Linked DNA regions of Homo sapiens: all the other regions are linked to region 2. Evidence: promoter capture Hi-C in 16 types of primary human blood cells and fetal thymus (Javierre and others, 2016). All regions are on one chromosome and are shown on one strand. The core of a region is centred on a gene start or on the middle of the fragment in contact, and the rest is flanking DNA. Distances in the headings are between cores, read along the strand shown.

Evidence for each region. The method cuts DNA at HindIII sites, captures the fragments that hold promoters and counts their contacts. A CHiCAGO score of 5 or more calls a contact.
Region 1: a contact is called between the fragment with the promoter of MOB1A here and the fragment with the promoter of PCGF1 in region 2, in 3 of 17 cell types (total CD8 T cells, activated CD4 T cells and fetal thymus). The highest score is 7.1, in total CD8 T cells.
Region 3: a fragment that was not itself captured here is called in contact with the fragment with the promoter of PCGF1 in region 2 in 2 of 17 cell types (M0 macrophages and naive B cells); the score reaches 5.6 in M0 macrophages.
Region 4: a fragment that was not itself captured here is called in contact with the fragment with the promoter of PCGF1 in region 2 in 1 of 17 cell types (activated CD4 T cells); the score reaches 6.5 in activated CD4 T cells.

The regions. Positions count from the first base shown.
Region 1 is chr2:74,177,539-74,180,238 of GRCh38, reverse strand. MOB1A (MOB kinase activator 1A) reads left to right here and starts at 1,360. Exons shown (of 6, transcript NM_018221.5): 1 at 1,360-1,578. The coding sequence starts at 1,565. RefSeq lists a silencer at 1,599-1,788 and an enhancer at 1,652-2,335. The HindIII fragment of the contact is 1,935 bases long and covers 93-2,027 here.
Region 2 is chr2:74,506,392-74,509,091 of GRCh38, reverse strand. PCGF1 (polycomb group ring finger 1) reads left to right here and starts at 1,397. Exons shown (of 9, transcript NM_032673.3): 1 at 1,397-1,516; 2 at 1,945-2,050; 3 at 2,208-2,360. The coding sequence starts at 1,424. RefSeq lists enhancers at 588-647, 1,388-1,567, 1,204-2,134. The HindIII fragment of the contact is 5,812 bases long and covers 1-2,700 here.
Region 3 is chr2:74,873,563-74,876,262 of GRCh38, reverse strand. HK2 (hexokinase 2) reads right to left here. Exons shown (of 18, transcript NM_000189.5): 6 at 2,320-2,419; 7 at 1,814-1,997. Among named protein-coding and RNA genes, the nearest start is that of LINC01291, 34 kb to the left of the region's middle. The HindIII fragment of the contact is 684 bases long and covers 1,026-1,709 here.
Region 4 is chr2:74,236,695-74,239,394 of GRCh38, reverse strand. SLC4A5 (solute carrier family 4 member 5) reads left to right here. Exons shown (of 31, transcript NM_133478.3): 21 at 1-60. Among named protein-coding and RNA genes, the nearest start is that of MTHFD2, 39 kb to the right of the region's middle. The HindIII fragment of the contact is 1,210 bases long and covers 655-1,864 here.

The DNA.
Region 1 (2,700 bases), core at 111-2,610, 330 kb after region 2:
CTCCTGAGCTCAAGTGATCCGCCAGCCTCAGACTCCCAAAGTGCTGGGATTACAGGCGTAAGCCACAACTGTGCCTGGCCAGTAATGAAGCTTTGATACATGCTACAATATGGGTGCGTTTTAAAACATTATGCTAAGTGAAAGAAGTCAGTCACAAAAGACCACATAATGTATGCTTCCATTCACAGTGTATATGAAATGTCCAGATTAGGTAAATCCATGGAAATAGAAAGTAGAGTAGTGGTTGCCAGGGGTTGGGAGGAGGGAGGTGGGTAATAAAGAGTAACTGCTAATAGGTATGGGGTTTCTTTTCGGGGTGATGAAAATGGCCTAAAATTATGGTTAGGCTGGGCGCGGTGGCTCACGCCTGTAATCCCAGCTTTGGGAGGCCGAGGCGGGTGGACCACTTGAGGTCAGGAGTTCAAGACCGAGACCAGCCTGGCCAACATGGCGAAACCCCGTCTTTACTAAAAAAAAAAAAAAAAAAAAATACAAAAATTAGACGGGTGTGGTGGCGCACGACTGTGATCCCAGCTACTCGGGAGGCTGAGGCATGAGAATCACTTGAATCTGGAAGGCAGAGGTTGCAACGGGCCGAGATTGCACCACTGCATTCCAGCCTGGGTTACAAAGTGAGACTCTGTCAAAAAAAAAAAAAAAATTAGTGCTGATGGTTGGCACACTTTGAAAACATAAACAAAGCCGGAGGCAGTGGCTCACACCTGTGATCCCAGCATTTTGGGAGGTCAAACCAGGAGGATCCCTTGAGCTCAGGAGTCCAAGACCAGCTTGGGCAACACAGTGAGACGCTCGTCTCTGCAAAAACTTTGAGAAAATTAGCCGGGCGTGGTGGCAGGCACCTGTGGTCTCAGCTACTCGGGAGGCTGAGGCGAGAGGATCACTTAAGCCCAGGAAGTCCAGGCTGCAGTGAACTGTGAACTCCAGTCTGGGCGACAGAGCGAGACACCTCAGAAAAAAAAAAAAAAAAGAAAGAAAAAACCGAAAAAGACCACTAGAGGGTACATGTTTAAAGGACAGATTTTATGCTATGTGAATATATTTCAAGTAAAAATTAAATTAACAATTTTAAAAATTGCAGGAGTACGCAGCGCTTATAGAGGTCCCTGCATAACCTAGGGAGCGGGATCGAAACCCAGCAGCACCAAGATACTCTAAGAGCAGGACCAGCCACTGCCCCTTCCGCAGGACCGCCATCCTCGCCACGCCTCCGGGGGAGGGAGGTCCTGGCTTGGAGAGCGATGATTGGCCGAGTTCTAGGACGAGGCGGAGCGAAAGGGGGCGCGACAAGTCCCTCCCGGCGCAGCGAAACCTTAGCTCGCGAGATTTTGTTGGTTCCGCATTTCGGGTCTGCGAGGTGGGGTAGGCGGGCAAGGCGGGCGCCGAGGTTTGCAAAGGCTCGCAGCGGCCAGAAACCCGGCTCCGAGCGGCGGCGGCCCGGCTTCCGCTGCCCGTGAGCTAAGGACGGTCCGCTCCCTCTAGCCAGCTCCGAATCCTGATCCAGGCGGGGGCCAGGGGCCCCTCGCCTCCCCTCTGAGGACCGAAGATGAGCTTCCTCTTGTGAGTGGGGTCGGGCCGCGGGCGCCGGGCCTGCGGGCCGAGGTTGTGGGGGAGGCCTCCCCGGACCTGAGGCGAGGGCTCGGCCTGGGGGCCGAGGCGGGGGCGGGGTAGCTGGCGTTTGTTTTGCCTCTGTTCGGGTCCGCGGGGGAGGCCGAGATGTTGGGAGAGGCCGACAGAGATGAAGGTCGAAGTAAAGGAAACGGAGCGTGAAGGCTGGGGAGTAGAAAGGCCCCGGGGCCGTCGCGCCTCCAAACTTTTCCGCCCGAGCGCCCCCGAGGGCGGGGAGACGATCTGGGGGCGGAGCCGCGAGCCCCCAGTTTCTCTTGTCTCGAGCTTCTAGAAACCGTCCTTGCCGACTTAACTCGTTGCTCGGTTATAGGTCCAGTTTCATTATTGTCGGTGTTAAATGCCGCCCCAGGAGAATGTGCGTTGCCGCAGTTTGAGAAGCTTGAAGTTAAGATGCTGGCCTTGGAGTCGGATCGTTCTGTCCAGTTCTGATTCTGCCCACTTACTGGCTTTGATTTTAACCAACTTCTCTTGTCCTCGGTAGAATCCTGTGTTTTTAATCATTATGTAATATACCATACAGCATTATTATATAGTACATTGCAGTATTATAAATAATTTGGAAAGTTAAAACAAATTCATAGTCCCATTGCAGAAACACAGTATTGCCATTTTAGTGCACTACAGCAATTAACTTGATAGGCATACCTTAGAATCTCATTTTAGAGATAATGCCTGAGCCCAACCAAACAAGGCTAAAATGAAAAAGCTTGTAAATTCCCTGATGATTCTTATGCACATTAAGGTTTGAGAAGCATTGCTCTGGCACAGTATTTTTTATTCTCAGGTGTCTCTCTCTACCTTGTATATTGCTTAAATGTGTGTTTTGTGATTGAATAATTATCCAATTTTAGTTATGGATGTAATCCACATGCTTGACATTTTTATTAAATACAATATAAAAACACTATATAGTTTTTTTTTTATTTTTTATAACCAGAGTTTACCCACTTTATTGTGAGAAACTGGGATTCCTTCCAGTATTTACTATTATAAAATAGCACTACTCAGAATATGTTTATCTGCGTCTCATTTTCCTTCCTTTGGGTTATTCTC
Region 2 (2,700 bases), core at 148-2,647:
ATCCACATCTCAAAAATTGTCCTTTGTCCTTTGTGTTTCATGTTTTATCAGAATCACTAGCTCTGAGAAACAGCACTCAACTGTGATGTTGAGAACAGGCGAAGGGGGACTCAAGGAAAACAGTCAAGAGGCCACTACAGAGGACAGATGATAGTGGCTCGGACCAGGGAAGTAGGTAAACAGGGGCTGTAACGAATAATTGATTAATCACTAATCTCATAACTTCTTGCTGCATATTCACTTCAATTCACTCTGAAGAGAAATGAACAAAAATGTCGCTTTCACAGGATAACCTCCCTTCAAAAAAGTCCGCTAGCTCCCAATTGCCCTCAGGCTAAAAATCGCAACTCTTTATGGCCCTGCTTTTTCTATTACCACTCTCAAATCTACATCTTGACCTTCCTGTCCTCTGGTCATTCCCCTCCACGTCCTTTCTATTTCACCACACTTCCACCCCCTCCCCCAAGTCTAAATTGTGCCCAAAGTCCCACTTTCTCCAGAAAGCCTTTTTTGAGGTCTCCATTGGAATCTCTCCCTTCTCGTATCTCCAGTTGCATTTGATGTTAATACCTCATAGCAAATTTATCCCTTTTTAAGTACCCAGAGCCGGCGGTGTAGAGCTCTCGAGCGAGCACCCCGCGTAGTCCCCAAGTGCGGGACTGGGCCTATGCTACTACAGGCGCTCGCTGCCTAAGCCTGTCTGTGTGTGGCAGTGTCCTAGTCGTCCTCCCCTCCTCCTTCGGCATCTGCTCTGCATTAGTCTGTCCCAGGCCTCCGCAGGCGCCGATGATTAAATCATCATCATTAACCAGGGCCTGCCCCCCCCATCCCCGGCAGCAGGGGGGAGAATGGGGGAATAAGATCACTACCAAGTCCCTGGGGGTCTCTCACTCCCCATCCCCCGGCACCCTCTCCGAGACTCTGCAAAGCCCAAGAAACTCCCTCCGTGAAGCCGGGAGAAGACCCGCCATCTGGACGAAGCTCCGCTACGCGGACGCCGACAGGGCGGCATTACGAGGAGAGGACCCAGGAGGGGCTTCTTCAGCAGGGTCGTCGTCACAGAAGACCGACGACCCTGAGCGGGTAGCGGGCACAGACTGCCAGGCCTTTGGGGGTAGGAGGGGGCAGTCTTTCGCAGGCTCCGAAAGTTAGTCTTGAGGTCGCGTAGGGCCTATTATGATGATTTCTACAGGAGGTTGAAGAGATAAGACCCTTCCCTGTGCTCCCCCCCCCCCACTCCTTAATTACGGATTGAGCAGGGGAGGGGCCGGTGGGGCTCAGGTGAGCACACAGGGAGAAAGGGACGTGGGCGGGGCCTTACAGAGGGTGAGCGAATCCGAAAAGACCTAGAACCTCGTTGCTGGGAGACAAGTCCCGCCCTGCAGGCGGCACCGGAAGTGGCCGGCTGGGATCAGCCTTTAAGATGGCGTCTCCTCAGGGGGGCCAGATTGCGATCGCGATGAGGCTTCGGAACCAGCTCCAGTCAGTGTACAAGATGGACCCGCTACGGAACGAGGTGCAAGGGCGGCAGGGTTACTGCTGTGGTCGGCCAGCGGTGCGAATTGGGGCGGGCTAAAGGACGGGCGGTGGCTGGCCGGGCGCCCAGTGCGCCTGCGCAGAGACAGAGTGCCCAGTGCGCCTGCGTGGTTGCGATCGGGTTGCCAAACTCCGGTTAGGACGCCTGCGCGTTGTGTCGCCGACGTTGTGTAGTCTCCCCTGGGAAAGGAGGGTCAGGCGAGTCCACGTGAGGGAAGCCCCCGCTGTGCGCGGAGCCCTCTGCTGGGCGGAGGGGGAGTGCCAGCCCCCAGGAGCTAATCCCCGGCTGATGGCGCAGGGCGCGGGGCTTGGCCGTCTAGTGTGATGAAGGAGGCGACCCCCAAGGTGGGAAGGCGCACGGGTTGGGGTTTGAGGGTGGATGATTGGTGACGGAGGGTGTATCTTCAGGAGGAGGTTCGAGTGAAGATCAAAGACTTGAATGAACACATTGTTTGCTGCCTATGCGCCGGCTACTTCGTGGATGCCACCACCATCACAGAGTGTCTTCATACTTGTGAGTGCCTTGGAGACTGCCTAGTTCTTCCAGTCCCTAGTCTTCACCAAGCTGACTGCCAGCTTCTGTGCGGCCTGCCTCACGCATCCAGGCACCCCACCCAGCCCATGAATCCAGTTTCCAGAGGGCCTGAGAATCTGCTTTTCTTTTCCTGCAGTCTGCAAGAGTTGTATTGTGAAGTACCTCCAAACTAGCAAGTACTGCCCCATGTGCAACATTAAGATCCACGAGACACAGCCACTGCTCAACCTCAAACTGGACCGGGTCATGCAGGACATCGTGTATAAGCTGGTGCCTGGCTTGCAAGACAGTGAGTCACCAACCTGACTTTGAGGGGCCTCTTGAGGACTAATTGCTGAGTGGCAGCTTGAGGTGACGGGTTTGGTAGGACTCACGTAGGCAGAAGGCCAAAGATGAGGGAAGGACAAAAAGTGAGGAAGGGCTAATACTTTATTCTTTTTTTTCTTTTTTTGAGACGGAGTCTTGCCCAGGCTGGAGTGCAGTGGCGCAATCTCAGCTCACTGCAAGCTCCACCTCCTGGATTCATGCCATTCTCCTGCCTCAGCCTCCTGAGTAGCTGGGACTACAGGCGCCCACCACCATGCCCAGCTAATTTTTTATATTTTTTAGTAGAGACGGGGTTTCACCAT
Region 3 (2,700 bases), core at 118-2,617, 370 kb before region 2:
TTCCAAGGTTACCTTTCCGAGAGGAAACCCAGGCCTCCAGGAAGCAGCCTGCTCAAGACCCAAGGCCGAGTACAGCAGCATCAGGGCTAACTGAGAGCTGGCAAAATTGTGAAGATGACAGCGCGCATTTTAAATGTTAGTGCACCCACACAGGCAGAGCTTCAGGAGAAGGAAACCAGCGTGGATGGGAGCCTGGCTTCAACAGTAAGGAACTCCGTGTTGCTAAGTTTTTATTCTAGTTTTTAAAAACACTTTGTTCCAGTCAACATTTGGAAGATACTTACTTGGAAATATATTAGAGGGGACAAAAATTGTCTGTAGTGACTTCAGGGCTACCATGGATGACAATTTGGTGGGTGTCAAAGGATAAGCCGGGGGTGTGCTGTCATGGTCTGGCTGGCAAATTTGTCTTTTGACATTTGAAAGGGCCTTTAGTTCCTCGGAATGACTTGGGTGTGCCTCATTCATGGAGGCAGGCACTGAGTGACTTTTCAGCTCATAAACCTCTCATCAGCCATGGCAGACACAACCAGTATGATCCTCAGAAATTTCAAGTAAAGGACTCATTTCAACATGTGAAACAAGCTTGTGACTTAGATAAATAAACCATGCTTTGACAAAGCAAGGACTCTCAGGCCGGGCGCGGTGGCTCACGCCTGTAATCCCAGCACTTTGGGAGGCCGAGGAGGGCGGACCGCCTGAGGTCGGGAGTTCGAGACCAGTCTGGCCAGCATGGTGAAACCCTGTCTCTAATAAAAATACAAAAATTAGCTGGGCGTGGTGGCAGGCGCCTGTAATCCCAGCTACTCAGGAAGCTGAGGTAGGAGAATCGCTTGAACCCGGGAGGCAGAGATTGCGGTGAGCCAAGATTGCGCCATTGCACACCAGCCTGGGCAACAGAGAGAGACTCTGTCTCAAAAAAAAAAAAAAAAAAACGAAAGCAAGGACTCTCCTGGGTTACCCACCACTGACTTGATTTATAGGGTTCAATTTTCCTGTCCAAGTAGAGATCTGCACGAAAAGCTTTTCTACAACAGTCACAAGACCAGAGATGATCTGTATTGCTCAAAATATTTTGCAACTGCTTCAGACCTTGAAGCAATCCCTGTTTCAAGATCTTTCACACGCACATTTGGCAAATGTTTGTGAGGGTGAAATAAGGTTTTGTAAGAGATAAAAGCAACTAAAAACAAAGGCAGGCCAGGCTGGAGAATACAATATTCAGGATCCAAAATGCTAGACGCCCCTCCTCCAATCCATCCCAGGACATAGTTGGGCCAAGGTCCAAGTGAAGGAGGCCAAGGAAGCTCCTCAGCCAATGTCTCCAGGGGCCATGGGTCTGCCTGCAGCTGCAGCAGGAGGCCCTGGGACCCCAGGGAGCAGCAATGAGCAGCCAGCTGTCAGCCTGTCCTCTGGGTGGTGATGGAGTTGGAGCTATGAAAGGAGCTTTCAGAGACCCCAATCTTGGCCACCTCAACACAACTTTCCTTAGGTGGCTCACAGTTCCCATGGACAATTTACAAATAGAAGGTGGAAAGAAAGAGCAGGGCCACCCACTTACACTCAGAATAGAACCTTCCAAAATGACTCCTGTGAAGGAAACACATTATTAGCTATAATCTGGTATATCCGCTTGCTCTCTGTTTTAGATCCTCTCAGCAATTTATAGTCACAGACATTCCTATGACCAGTGGCCACCTTGGCAAGCTTTGGGGATGTAAGACTGTAAAGAAACAACCCCCTGGCCCCGACCAGCCCCAGACTCAGCTCCAGGCCCCCGCCAAGCCCACTCGCACAGGAAGGGCCTACTCACAGTTGCTTTCCCGGGTTCAGTGAGCCCATGTCAATCTCCTGGTCAAACTCAGTGCGAATGTCGTTGAGCGAGCCATCGTCCCCGAAGGCCCCCCACTCCATATTGATACACATCCGCCCCTCATCGCCTTCCACCATGTCGATGTGGCGCATCTCTTCCATGTAGCAGGCGTTGCTGCCCGTGCCTGCCAAAACAAGGGACGGCTATGCACACGCCTGCTCCGGCCCCTTCCCACCCCTCTTCCCTCTTATACTACTGTCCCGAGACTGCCCGGCCAGGATGGCTGGGATTTCTCACTGCAGACTCTGGGGGCATCACAATACATGGTCTAATCTTCTGCCACCCCCAACTCCATGAGTCCCTGCTCGGCTCTCCAAAGTGACTGGACCATTATCTTCTAATATGAACTACAAAGGAACACCCAGCCCATGGGCCCCTTCTCCCTTTCCAGCCCACACCCCCATCCCTTGGCCAGCACGGGCCCTTCATGCACGGTGTTCACTCACCCACAATGAGACCAATCTCACAGTTGTGGTCATCATAACCACAGGTCATCATGGTCCCAACTGTGTCATTCACCACAGCCACAATGTCGATATCAAAGTCCTGTGGAGACAAATGGGAGGGCTCTGACCTTCATCATCACAGAGGGCGACTTTCCTAACACCAGCTATATATCACTCCTCCTCCTCCTCCTCCTCCTTCTCTCTCTCTCCCCCCTCCCTCCCCATAACTCCTCCTGTGATAAGACTTTTAATTCATTCTCTCTCTGAGCCATTCCACTCCCATGTCAACATCATTCCAACTTTCTTACTTGGAAATCACATTCAAGTCTTCTTCAGGTTAAGAACTAAAGAGCTTTTCTTGTGCCAAGGCTAAGATTATTT
Region 4 (2,700 bases), core at 10-2,509, 270 kb after region 2:
ACATACTCCATGACCCTGACCCTGAAGAAGTTCAAATTCAGCCGCTATTTTCCTACCAAGGTAAGCTCACCCTGCAGTTAGGAGGGGACCTGCAGTCAGACAGCTGCTGAGTCCCCCAGAGAGGGTTCTGGTCCACCGACAGGATGGACTCCATGCGAGCACTGGCCCACTGGGGTTTTTCAAGTTAAGTCAGAGAGAACTGTGTTCCCTTGTTGGCTGGTCCCCTTGACAACACTTGGTATTGTCAGGCTTTTATCTTTAGTCTTTGTCTATAGTAGTATCTCATTGTGTTTTTTAAATTTTTCATTTCCCTGATGACTAATGAAGTTGAAAATACAGCTATTCCTGTGTTTATTGGCCACATGCCCAATTGCCTTTCTTTTTGGAAGTGTCTGTTGAAATCTCTTGCACATTTTGGGTTGTCTGCCTTTCTGATTTGCAAGAGTTTGTTATATATTCTGGGTAGAAATGTTTTTGTGATTATATGTGTTGCAAAATCTTCTCCCACTCTGTGACTGTTTTTTTCTTTTTACATCCTTAATGGCATCTTTTGATTAACAGAAATTCTTAGTTTTATTGTAATTGAATATATCAAACTTTCCTCAAGGCAAATATTGGACAGCAGATATTCTTGTATGTTACCTTCTAAAAGCTTCATTGTTTTTCCTTTCATGTTAGATCTACAATCCATCAGAATTGATTCTGATGTGTACTGTGAGACAGTGTTTCTTTGTGATTTTATATAGTCAATTGTTCCAGTATTTTTTAAAGACTATTCTTTCTCCATTGCTTTGCAATACTTCCTTTGCCATATATCAAATATTCCTATATGACAGGGTCTGTTTCTGGGTTCTTTATTCTGTTTCACTAGTTTATTTATATATCAGTATCACAGTCTTCATTTCTGTAGCTTATAAGTCTTTATATCTTTGTCTCCCAAGCTCTCCCCTTTTGTCCTTTTTATATAATATTTTCTTGGCCCTTTGCATTTCCACATGAATTTTAGAATCATCTTAAATTTCACCAAAATGAAAACTTGTTGGAATTTTGATGGGATTATCTTTGCCTCTGTTTGGGAAGAATTAACGTCTTTCAAATTTTGAGTTTTTCTGATTTATGAATACAGTATACTTCATTTATTTTGGTCTTCTTTCTCTCCATAATGTTTTATACATTTTGATCTTTAAGTCTTGAACATTTTTTGTTAGAGTTATTCCTAGGTACTTGATTTTTTTATACCGTCGTAAATGCTAACTGCTATGTTATTATTATTTTATTATTATTATTATTTTTGAGACAGAGTCTCACTCTGTCACCCAGGTGGGAGTGAAATGGCATGATCTCGGCTCACTGCAACCTCCGCCTCCCGGGTTCAAGTGATTCTCCTGCCTCAGCCTCCCAAATAGCTGGGACTACAGGCGCCTGCCACCACACCCGGCTAATTTTTGTAATTTTAGTTGAGACGGGGTTTCACCATGCTGGCCAGGCTGGTCTTGAACTCCTTACCTCAGGTGATCCCCCCACCTCAGCCTCCCAAAGTGCTGGGATTACAGGTGTGAGCCACCGCACCCAGCCCTAACTGCTGTTTTAAATTTTATTTTCTACCTGTTTGTGGCTGGAATAAAAGATTTATGAAAACAGCACTTGCATACATAAGCAGTAACTGTGCCGTGGGGTGGGGGGTACTCGGAAGAATTTAAGCAACTCTTTCCCACCGTAAACTCCATTAGCAGTCTCCTAAAGCCATCTTAACTAAGTATTACAGCTGCTACTGCTACTAATCATAATGATAAAATCTTTGAAATAAATAGTTGAATTTTTCCCAGATTTTCTAAAGACTAAATAAAAGGTGCTTTAGGAAGCTTCACAGTATATAAACTGAGTAAAAAAATAGTTTGCTTACAACACAAATGCACCATCAAGACAAGTTCTCTTCCTTCCTGCCCACTTCCAGTCCAGAGCACATCCCTCAATCTCCTCTTATGTAAAAATTCTCAAGCAGTCACTGTATCTGAGAGTATCTATCTGTTGCCTACAGGATGAAAAGTAATTCATGTGGCATGAAATTCTTGTGCCAACAACATTTTTTCCGTCACATTACTTAAAAATTGCTCAGTTGGGCCAGGCACAGTGGCTCACGCCTGTAATCCCAGCACTTTGGGAGGCCCAGGCAGGCGGATCACGAAGGCAGGAGATCGAGACCATCCTGGCTAACATGGTGAATCCCCGTCTCTACTAAAAATACAAAAAATTGGCCGGGCGTTGTGGTGGGCGCCTGTAGTCCCAGCTACTTGGGAGGCTGAGGCAGGAGAATGGCATGAACCCGGGAGGCAGAGCTTGCCGTGAGCAAAGATTGCGCCACTGCACTCCAGCCTGGGCGACAGAGAGAGACTCTGTCTCAAAAAAAAAAAAAAAAATTGCTCAGTTGCCTTCTGGAATTTCCGGTTGCAGAGAGGAATGAGGCCACACCATTTTATACTCATCAGATTGGTAGACAGATGAAGGTCTTGGGACACCAGATGTTGGAGATGGAAAGCAGTAGGTGGGAATGTAGACAGATACATCCAATTTGGAGAGCAACTGACACTCTCTGATTAGGTTGGACCATATGAAGTTGCCCATATTTGACTGTTTCAACCTACAAAAAAAGTCAAGTTCATGTGGTTTAACTTAATAAGCATTCATATGGTTTTGATGTAT